Regions from separate parts of the Homo sapiens genome. Here all the other regions are linked to region 2. The links are contacts of gene promoters, found by promoter capture Hi-C in blood cells and fetal thymus (Javierre and others, 2016). All regions are on one chromosome and are shown on one strand. Each heading gives the region's core, a stretch centred on a gene start or on the middle of the fragment in contact. The rest is flanking DNA. Distances are from core to core; before and after follow the strand shown. Region 1 overlaps AP1G1 (adaptor related protein complex 1 subunit gamma 1). Region 2 holds the start of NPIPB15 (nuclear pore complex interacting protein family member B15). Region 3 holds the start of DHODH (dihydroorotate dehydrogenase (quinone)).

Evidence for each region. The method cuts DNA at HindIII sites, captures the fragments that hold promoters and counts their contacts. A CHiCAGO score of 5 or more calls a contact.
Region 1: a contact is called between a fragment that was not itself captured here and the fragment with the promoter of NPIPB15 in region 2, in 1 of 17 cell types (M0 macrophages). The highest score is 5.2, in M0 macrophages.
Region 3: a contact is called between the fragment with the promoter of DHODH here and the fragment with the promoter of NPIPB15 in region 2, in 4 of 17 cell types (naive CD8 T cells, naive CD4 T cells, total CD4 T cells and 1 more). The highest score is 7.5, in naive CD8 T cells.

What each region holds. Positions count from the first base shown.
Region 1 is chr16:71,782,537-71,786,488 of GRCh38, forward strand. The region is part of intron 2 of AP1G1 (adaptor related protein complex 1 subunit gamma 1); the gene reads right to left. Among named protein-coding and RNA genes, the nearest start is that of AP1G1, 24 kb to the right of the region's middle. The HindIII fragment of the contact is 2,187 bases long and covers 378-2,564 here.
Region 2 is chr16:74,374,299-74,377,715 of GRCh38, forward strand. It overlaps NPIPB15 (nuclear pore complex interacting protein family member B15), which reads left to right and starts at 2,008. Exons shown (of 8, transcript NM_001306094.2): 1 at 2,008-3,048. The HindIII fragment of the contact is 9,807 bases long and covers 1-3,417 here.
Region 3 is chr16:72,007,350-72,011,109 of GRCh38, forward strand. It overlaps DHODH (dihydroorotate dehydrogenase (quinone)), which reads left to right and starts at 1,395. Exons shown (of 9, transcript NM_001361.5): 1 at 1,395-1,436. The coding sequence starts at 1,416. RefSeq lists silencers at 1,147-1,246, 1,190-1,389. The HindIII fragment of the contact is 5,632 bases long and covers 1-3,322 here.

The DNA.
Region 1 (3,952 bases), core at 221-2,720, 2.6 Mb before region 2:
AGTGCAGTGGCGCAGTCTTGGCTCACTGCAACCTCCACCTCCCGGGTTCAAGCGATTCTCCTGCCTCAGTCTCCTGAGTAGCTGGGATTAATAGGCGCCTGACACCACACCTGGTTAATTTTTGTATTTTTAGTAGAGACAGGGTTTCATCATGTTGGCCAGGATGGTATTGAACTCCTGACCTCGTGATCTGCCTGCCTCGGCCTCCCAAAGTGCTGGGATTACAGGTGTGAGCCACCATGCCCAGCCGATTATTATTCTTATTAATACTCAAATTATCTCTTTTGGGGGTATGACTGCCTCTTCTGGTGATTACTGAAACCTTCTGACATGATCTTTGCAGTCTTTCTTGCTTTCTGGCATAGTAACATCATTCAAGCTTATTTTGTACATTTCCTTACCCTGGATTTGGGATCAGCCATCTTTCCAATGGGCTGAAAATAGTATCTGGAGACCACAGTCTAGGCTTAAGGATAGCTCATTGCTTCTGGTCTGGTCATTAATTCTAAGGCTTTTCAAGGAATAGTACTAGCTTAAGTACTTTATTTTAAGAAAAAAATTCCTTAATGTGAGAAAGCGTGTCTACTAAACCCTATGACAGTCACCCACATATTACTGTAGAGCATTTGTTTACGGCTTTAACAAGAGTGGCTATTATCATCACTTATTTGCAATAATGTACTACCTGTACAGTGTAATAAGAAAATAAGAAAATGTATAAGGATATCAAAGGAAAAAAAAGAACTGCCATTGTTTGCAGACAATAGTAGTATTGACTACATGGAAACAATGACGTCCACAGAGACTCTTAGAACCAAGTTCAATAATGTGGCAAAGTAGATAAATATTATTAAAAATCAATTATATCACTACAGATCTACAACATAATTATTTAAAATTTTAAAGGATACTATTTGCAACAGAAACAAGAGCTCTAAAGAACCTACAAATATATTTCTCCAAAGATGTGTTAAGACTTAAAAATCCTGTGTTTTAAAGGAAATTTTTTTTTAATTTTTTAAAAAGATGTATAAGACTGTACAGAAAACATTGTAAAATTTAGAGAAGCTAAAGAAGTGCAGTCCTATGCTACACAGATGGAAGGGAAGAATATCCTACACAGGTAATTGGGTATGGCAAGCAAGGCTAGAACTGAGGAAAAACAGAATCAGGCCCAGCCTAAAAGCAGCACACTACTGACATATGGAAATGTAGATTTCCATTCCACAAATCTTACTATGTTTCTAAGAGAAACTAGAAGTCCAGATTTCTATGGAAATTCTTTTTTCTTTTTTATGTACTGGCAGAAACAATTTTAAATACCACACAGGACAAAAAAGAACACATCTGTGGAAGAATTTGGCCCCGAGCCACCAGTTTTCTACTCCTGCAATCTACCTACTTATCTTTAGATAATTCATTAATATTTCTGGGTTGTGCTTAACCTACACACGCAAAAGGTTACACACACTACAGGAAATCTATCACCACTTTTGTTATAAAAATGCTGAGGATACTGTCTCTTACATTATTAAGAGACTCCTAGACAAAAGGTCCATATAAAAAATCTCTTAGAATTCAGTGCTTCAAAAAACATTGCCGTCCTTTAGGAAATGGTAAAATGCATAACATGAGGCTTTTTATATACAAAATGTGTCTAACACTTATAACTTAATCTTCATAATAACACTATAAAGTAGGCATTAAGATTGTCCCCATTTTACAGATGAGGAAACTGAGACACAGAAAGGTTAAAGATCTTGCTCAAAGCCAGAAGTCACATCCAGGCAATCTGGTTCTCTGCAGTTTTGCTCTTCCATCTTGGCAATAACAACTACCTGAGAGGTGACTGTCTCTTTTCTTGCCTTAGCTGTCGCACCAACAGCAACTACACTGGCCTTATGCTCTAAATGCTTCCTTTTTCCAACTCTTAATTTCTACTATTATTTTTCTCTTTAATGTAGATGCTGGTAGTTTATGCCATCTCAAATCCTTTGTACAGCAAGGCAGGGCTAAGATATTTTTTTGTTGTTGTTGTTTGAGACAGAGTCTCGCTTTGTCGCCCAGGCTGGAGTGCAATGGTATGATCTCGGCTCACTGCAACCTCCACCTTCCAGGTTCAAGTGATTCTCCTGCCTCAGCCTCCCAAGTAGCTGGGATTACAGGCACCCACCATCACGCCTGGCTAATTTTTGTATTTTTAGTAGAGACAGAGTTTCACCATGTTGGCCAGGATGGTCTCAAACTCCTGACTTCAGGTGATCCCCCTACCTTGGCCTCCCAAAGTGCCAGGATTACAGGCGTAAGTCACCGTGTCCATCCTACCCCTTAAGTTTTATTGCAAAACTTAAGACTTTTAAAATATAGCTACTAGAAATTTTTAAATTTCTATGTAGCTTGTGTTTTATTTCTATCAGCACCATACTAGATACTGTAGTAAAAAGTTTTAAAAAGGTGAAATTAGTTTTAATAATATTCTTTAATCAATATATCTAAAATATCATTTCAACGTATGATCAACACAAAAATTATAATTAGGTATTTTACACTTGCTTTTGCACTAAAGCTTCTATATACAGTATGTACTTTACACTTACAGCACATCTCAATTTGTACATTTTCATCAGAAATAGCTAAACTAAAAAGAAAAAAAAAGAAATAGCTGAACTGTATTTAGATTTCATAAAATTTACTATTTATAAAGTAGACTCACATACCCAAGTTGTTTAAAACATATTTAAAAGTCTTCCAATAACTAGGCTGGGTGTGGTGGCTCACACCTGTAATTCCAGCACTTTGGGAGGCCAAGACGGTGGATCATTTGAGGTCAGGAGTTCAAGACTAGTCTGGACAACATGGTGAAACCCTGTCTCTACCAAAAATACAAAAATTAGCCGGGTGTGGTGGCAGGTGCCTGTAGCCCAGCTACTCAGGAGGCTGAGGCAGGAGAATCGCTTGAACCTGGGTAGTGAAGGCTGCAATGAGCCAAGATTGTGCCATTGTACTCCAGCCTGAGTGACAAGAGCGAAACCCTGCCTCAAAAAAAAAAAAAAAAAAAAAAAAGTGGGCTGGGAATGGTGGCTCACGCCTGTAATCCCAGCACTTTGGGAGGCCGAGGCGGGCAGATCACGAGGTCAGATCGAGACCACCCTGGCTAACACAGTGAAATCCCGTCTCTACTAAAAACACAAAAAAATTAGCCAGGCATGGTGGCAGGCGCCTGTAGTCCCAGCTACTAGGGAGGCTGAGGAAGGAGAATGGCGTGAACCCAGGAGGCAGAGTTTGCAGTGAGCTGAGATCACACCATTGCACTCCAGCCTGGGCAACAGGGCGAGACTCCATCTCAAAGAAAAAAAAAAGTGGCTATTATTATACACTAAATGAAAATGGCACTGTGATCATACGTGCAGGTGACAAAATCTAGATATGAACCTTTTAAAGGCATATTATAAAGGTAATTCCAACGGATGGGGTACCAAATTACTGATATGAACAAGATGGTGACTCATTGAAACAGAGGAAACAGAATAAGAACTTAAAATTATGATTCCCAGTCCCATTCAGAAAAATATTTTATGATAAAATTTTAGCACAGTTTTCTCGAGCATTTACTTTCTAAGAATTAAATATTTTATCAAATAATTAAGTCCCAAAATACCCCCAAATGCCACCTAACCTTAAAAGCACATTCTATTTAAACATATTAAAGAAATGAATCTTAGAAAATATAGAGAGATTTTTTACAAAATGAAATATCCCCCAAAGTCTTAAATCTACTCTGATTCCAAATTCAAGAATTTGCCCTTAGTCCAGGGACTGTGGCTTACACCTATAATCACAGCACTTTGGGAGGTTGAGGCCCAAAGATCACTTGAGCCCAGGAGTTCAACACCAACCAGGGAACTGTGGCAGAAATCCAACTCAACAAAAATTTTTTTTTTTTGAGAAAGAG
Region 2 (3,417 bases), core at 758-3,257:
AAATGGCAATTTTCTGGAACATTCTTTTTTTGGTTTTGTTTTGGTTTTTTTTTTTTTTTTTTTTTTTTGAAACGGAGTCTCCCTCTGTCGCCCAGGCTGGAGTGCAGTGGCGCAATCTCGGCTCACTGCCAGCTCCGCTTCCCGAGTTCACGCCATTCTCCTGCCTCAGCCTGCCGAGTAGCTACGACTACAGGTGCCTGCTACCACGCCCGGCTAATTTTTCTGTAGTTTTAGTAGAGACGGGGTTTCACCGTGTTAGCCAGGATGGTCTCGATCTCCTGACCTCGTGATCCACCCGCCTCGGCCTCCCAAAGTGCTGGGATTACAGGCTTGAGCCGTGGCACCCGGCCCAGGAACTTCTCTTATATCTAGAAGCCAGGCTTGGTGACTCTACTTGCTCACCAGATGATCCTACACCTGCCACCTCCGATGGATCCACTGCCTCTGTGCCTGCCTGTACTGCTGATGCTCCAGTGGATAACTCAGCATCCCAGCCTAGGCCCAATGCCACTGAAGATGGACCTGCCCCCTGGAGACCCAGGAGTTCTACCACTCAGCTGTCCCCAGAAGTGCCCAGACCCTCATTCTTATCCAGGACCTAGGAGCCCTACCCCCTGGCCTTCCGTCATCAGCCGTAAATGATGATTTACTGCTGTTACCATCATCACTGCATTTAGTAACCAAGGGCCTTCCAAGGTGCCAGCTCTGGAACGAAGGATGCCTTTGGGAGGTGATGACACTCAGGTACACGGGTGCTCAACAGATTGCTTCCTCCTATCCTCAGATGGTCTTTGCATGCATGCAGCCATTGGCACTCCCATTGTACGCAAGGAAACCAGCCCAGGGTCACACAGCTGGTCAGCAGCAACACAGCTGGTCTCAAATCTAAGGTGCCTGGCCATGCCTCCATGAGGGACCGCCTGCAAGGGAGGTTGATCCTGGCTTTGGGGAGCCTTTCCTGGGCTGCACGAGTAACCTCCAATGTTTGAGGCCCCAAACTCTGCTCACATCTTCCTTTCCCTGTCTCTGCTTGGGCTATGATCACGGTGACTCTAGCAACCCTTCATGGACATTATAGTACTCTCTGCCATTCACTTTTGGTCTAATCTGACTTCAACCCCCACTTACTTGGTCTCTCCTTTTACAACCAACACAACCGAAATCCGAGGGCTTCTTTTTTTTTGAGACAGAGTCTCATTCCATTCTGTCACCCAGGCTGGAGTGCAATGGCACGATCTCGGCTCACTGCAACCTCCACCTCCTGGGTTCAAGGGATTGTCCTGCCTCAGCCTCCTGAGTAGCTGGGATTACAGGCGGGTGCCACCGTGCCTGGCTAATTTTTGTATTTTTAGTAGAGACGGGGTTTCACCATGTTGGTCAGGCTGATCTCGAACTCCTAACCTCGTGATCCGCCTGCCTCAGCCTCCCAAAGTGCTGGGATTACAGGCGTGAGCCACCATGCCCAGCCAAATCTAGGGCTGGAACATGGCTGCAGCATATAAATAGAATTGAATTCCATAGTTTTGTTAACCCTGTTTTTTGTTTGTTTGTAGTTGTTGCTGTTTTTGAGACTGAGTCTCGCTCTGTCGCCTAGGCTGGAGTGCAGTGGTGCAATCTCGGCTCACTGCAGACTCTGCCTCCCGGGTTCAAACTATTCTCCTGCCTCAGCCTCCCAAGTAGGTGGGACTAAGGCGCCCACCACCACACCCGGCTAATTTTTGTATTTTATTAGAGACAGGGTTTCACCATATTGGCCAGGCTGGTCTGGAACTCCTGACCTTGTGATCCACCCACCTCGGCCTCCCAAAGTGCTGGGATTACAGGCGTGAGCCACCACACCCAGCCCCTGTTTTGTTTTTGTTTTGCTTGTTTCTTAGGGTTGTTTTTCTATTTATGGTAAAGGCATTGGCTTTCCATTTGTAGCATCAATAGAATATTTCCTGTTTACAATAACCTTATGTCATAGTAAATGGTAAAGGGATTTAAAGCAGTGGTTTTCAGCTGCCAGAGGCCTGAGTGAGTTTGGGCACACTCTGTGTGATCGGGCAGAAGGCCTGTGGGAAGTTCAGCTGAGGACAGGGCCAGGAAAGGTGATGGACAGTGGGGGTCTGTCCTGGTCACCAGACCCCTGGGTCCTGCCCACCTGCTTGGAGCTCCCCACCCATCACACATGATGCTGCCAAGCCCTCTGGGTATTGTGGGCAAATACCTTAGGAGAGAAGCTGATGAACTTTGTTTCTTGAAATGCACAGATTCCTTGGACGTCCCTGAGAGGTCAATGATGAAGGTCAACTTGGTTTTCTCCCCCTCATTTGGGTTCAGAATTTAAAGTCCACACACACAGGCAGTAAGATGATTATAGATAAGGACATCATCACTCGGTTTCAGATGTTAAAATGTCTAGGTGGGTTAGGGGTGATTTGAGATCACACAACCTTGTGCCACAAAGAGGAATTCCCAGGCCAGGGGGAGACATTTTATTGCCATGTTATGATCTCATCATTGAGTTGAAAGGCAATCTTGTTTCATTTTGGATTCTTTCTTATGTTTATGTCTTATAAGGGCACTTTGAATTTCCAAGCAAATAATAATTTTGAATTAGCTTTTAATCATTGACTTCTAGCACAGTTATATGATCAGAAACATGCTGTGTGATTTGATTGCTCTCAAATATATTGAGATTTGCTGGAACAAAATAAGTCAGGTTAATTTTTGTAAATGTACCATGCATGCTTAAAATGAATGTATCTACATTTGTTCCTGAGATACAGGTTGATGGACGGATGGCTACATGGATGTGATGGAGATGGTTTACTATCGGGACCTTCCGCATCCTGCTGATGTTTTGTTGCTTAGGATATGAATGGCTGAGCGGAGGCTGTAAAACCTGGCACTCTGCTTGGGTATGAAGTTCTTCCTGCCATCCTGCCATCATTTGTTTTTTATGTTTTGTCGCCAAAAGTGACCTTGAGGAACCCTGGGAGCTCAGGAAGGAAGGAGAGCCCAGAAGCAGGGACAGGGAGCTGGTTGGGGAGGACCAGAAATCAGGTTTGTGAAGGTTCCAGAGAGGACCTGTCCTTGCGAGGAGTGTGGGAGACTGAGATGGGGGAGGGGTCATTGGAATGATGCGGGCGCTACTTGGCATTGTCCATTGTGAGGCACCACCGGGGTCATCAGGGATTGGTGGAGAGGGAGTATAAAGCCCCAGGGTTGCTAAGGGAGGGCCCAGACCGAAGAAGGTTTGGTGGATAGCAGAACCTTTTTGTCTCCCTCTAATTGCTCCTAAGCCTCACGCTCCCTTGCCCCACGTGTCCTGTTGCTTCCCTGATCTTCTCCGTGACCTGTAGCTAAACCTTCCACCAGCGCTTGAGAACTTAATTTGAACCGGATCCTTTCCCAGACCCCTTTCTTCTCCTC
Region 3 (3,760 bases), core at 145-2,644, 2.4 Mb before region 2:
AAAATGACACGGATGGGTGTAGAGCCTCCAAACAATAAGTATCTGATTAATGCTGTTGACACCTAAGTCTACAGAGGCTATTCTCCAACGGCCAGGACATCATTAGGTAAGACATTTCAAAATTCTTCGTGAGGGCACGATTGCTTCAGAGGACTACAAAGTGACACATTAGGTCGTCATAAATCACCGCAGTACCATCCTGGCTAACACGGTGAAACCCCGTCTCTAAAATACAAAACAATGAGCCGGGCATGGTTGCGGGCGCCTGTAGTCCCAGCTACTCGGGAGGCTGACGCAGGAGAATGGCGTGAACCCGGGAGGCGGAGCTTGTAGTGAGCCGAGATCGCGCCACTGCACTGCAGCCTGGGCAACAGAGCAAGACTCTGTCAAAAAAAAAAAAAAAAAAAAAAAAAAATCACCGCAGTAAACCACACTCCAACGGGCCTGCACACTCAGGGTCTTGATTAGAAACAGTATTTAAAAAAATACCTCCACATCTGTTGCACCACAATGCCAAGGTATAACCAGGGCCACTTTCTCCAGGAGGCACAACAGGCGCAGGGCCAGGGAAGGGCCTCTGACACTTTTAGGATCTCAAGAAATTTTTTTTTTTTGGTTATTTTTCTTTGTTTGTTTTTGAGACAGAGTCTTGCTTTGTCGCCCAGGCTGGAGTGCAGTGGTGCTATCTCGGCTCACTGCAACCTCCACCTTCTGGGTTCAAGCGATTCTCCTGCCTCAGCCTCCCGAGTACCTGGGATTACAGGCGCCTGCCACTACGCCCGGCTAATTTTTGTATTTTATTTTATTTTTTAGTAGACACGGGGTTTTGGGTGTTGACCAGGTCTCGAACTCCTGACCTCAAGTGATCTGCCTGCCTCAGCCTCCCAAAGTGCTGGGACTACAGGCGTGAGCCACCATGCCCGGCCTCAAGAAAATGTTTTAATTTCCTTAAAAAACCTTAAGAAAAATCAACTTTTAAGTTGAAAAAGTTTATATATTAACATATTCATCTTTATATCAACACAGCAGTAAAATTTATTTTTTAAAGTGATAAAAACTGTACAAATATTTCTGGTGTGAAACACAGTGTTTTGATGCTCGCGGACTCTTGGATTCGAGGCTGCGGTAGTACGGACAAACACCGTGCAGCGGCATCTCATCTCCGCCAACAGCCGGCGATCAAGCGGGCAGGCTGGGAGAGGGCGGGCGGAAGAGGCGTGGCCGCCGCTACTGCGCACGTGCACCCAACCAGAACCTGGGGGTGGTGCCGGGCCTTCCCCGCTGCGCGGAGGCGTCCTCTCAACCCTTCTGCCCGGCGACTGGTGGGTTGGCGGCTAAGGGGCGGAGACAAGAGGGGCCGCCACCATCTCCTCCAATGGAAGGGAGACAGGGGCGGGCTTAATGACGGAAGGAGCATGGCGTGGAGACACCTGAAAGTGAGTCCCGCGAGTGAGCAGTGTGGATGGGGGACCAGGGACCGGGGAGGGCGAGAACGGAGAGTCAGGCCGGGCGAGGCATGGACCGAAGGCGGCTCCGGGAGTGTGGGCCCCCCTGGGACGTGTGCGTGTTTCCGGGGTCTCCTGCAAATGCTCGTGCGTGTGCATTTGCACGTGGACTCGGTCAGGCGTGTGCAGACAGCGCCTGCAGGTCTGGGTGGGTGCTGATCTGAGTGTCTGCGCCTGGGCCATGTTTTTGAGCCTGGCACAGGGGTGCTTAGTGAACACATGACCGCCTAGCGTTGTGTGCCGGATCCAACGGGGAATGAAACTAGAGTAGGACATGCTCCCAACCCTTTTAGGTAAAGTTTTGTTAGGGGCGGGGGTCTCTGTGAAAAGTTCTTAGCTGTATCCCCGTATGTAATAGGTGTTCAGAGGCCGGGCGCGGTGGCTCACGCCTGTAATCCCAGCACTTTGGGAGGCCGAGGCGGGTGGATCATGAGGTCAGGAGATCGAGACCATCCTGGCTAACAAGGTGAAACCCCGTCTCTACTAAAAATACAAAAAATTAGCCGGGCGCGGTGGCGGGCGCCTGTAGTCCCAGCTACTCGGGAGGCTGAGGCAGGAGAATGGCGTGAACCCGGGAAGCGGAGCTTGCAGTGAGCCGAGATTGCGCCACTGCAGTCCGCAGTCCGGCCTGGGCGACAGAGCGAGACTCCGTCTCAAAAAAAAAAAAAAAAAAAAAAAAAATAGGTGTTCAGATATTTGTTGATTGACATGGTGGGGGGGAGTACAGTCTCCAAGGGAGGCAATGAATAACCTTGACTTTCTTTTTATATGTTTATTTGAGACGGAGTCTTGGGCTGTCGCCCAGGCTGGAGTGCAGTGGCGCGATCTTGGCTCACTGCAACCTCCGCCTCCCGGGTTCAACCGATTTTCCTGCCTCGGCCTCCTGCGTAGCTGAGATTACAGGCGCGCGCCACCACGACTGGCTAATTTTGGTATTTTTAGTAGAGACTGCAGTTTCACCATGTTGGTCAGGCTGGTCTCGAACTCCTCACCTCGTGAGCCTCCCAAAGTGCTGGGATTACTGGCGTGAGCCACCGCGCTCGGCCTGAGTCTCTTTTTAAAATAAATAAATGGAGAGAGATGGGATCTCACTGTGTTGCCCAGGCTGGTCTAGAACTATTGGCCTCAAGGGATCTTCCCGCCTCAGCCTCCCAAAGTGGTGGGATTACAGGCGTGGGCTACCGCGCCCAGCCAATGAATACTTGATCTACATGTCTTTAGCAGTTTGGAAGGATCCTTAAAAGCAAATCTAATCATGTCATTTCCTGGCTTAGGGAACAAAACCCAAATCTTTATTTTGGCCAAGACTCCTGCTCCTTTCTCCTGCCTCGTCTTAAGCCTTACTTTCCCTCACTCCTCTGTTCCAAACTTTCTCCCTTTTTCATTCTCTTCTGCTACTGAGAGAGCCTTTACACTTTTTCCTCTCCGTACTGCCTTCTGGTTAACTATTTTTTTAAATAATTGAACCAGAATAGGTTCAGAGAGACCCCCATCAACTCGTTTATCCCTTGAGTATCAGCTTTAAGTCATTTCCTTAAGGAAGCCTTTCCTTACCTCTAAGATTAGGTTGAATACTTCCATTACCTTATACTTTTTATCCTTCATCACAGTTGCTATGACTACATATTTGCATGATCATTAATTTCTGTCTGTCGCTTCATAAGATCACACTCTCCATGAGGGTAGGGGCAAGATCTGTTTTGTCATCTTTGCTCAATCAGTATTTGATGAATGACTGAACTAATGAATGAATAACTCAGCATGTGGCAGTGATAGAGAAAAGCATTGTGAACCACTTTTGATCCAATAAGATCTGAAGCTTCTGTTTTATATTTTACACCCCCGTTACCTTGAAATGGAATATATGTATAATGTCTTTGTATGTATACATTTTTGAGAGAGTCTGACTCTGTCGCCCAGGTGGAGTGCAGTGGTGTCATCCCGGCTCACTGCAGCCTGGACCTCCTGGGCTCAAGGGATCCACCCACTTCTGCCTCCCAAGTAGCTGAGACCGCAGGCGCACCACCATGCCTGGCTAATTTTTTATATTTTGTAGAGACGGGGTCTCACTATGTTCCCCAGGCTGGTCTCAAGCGCCTGAGCTCAAGCAGTCCTCCCACTTCAGCCTCCCAAAGTGCCGGGATTACAAGCATGAGCCACCAAGTCCAGCTATGTGCAATTTTTAAAAGCCAGCATAATTAATACCCTAACTGGAATATAAAGGAGAAAATGTAAAAGTAGTTTATATTAATAAT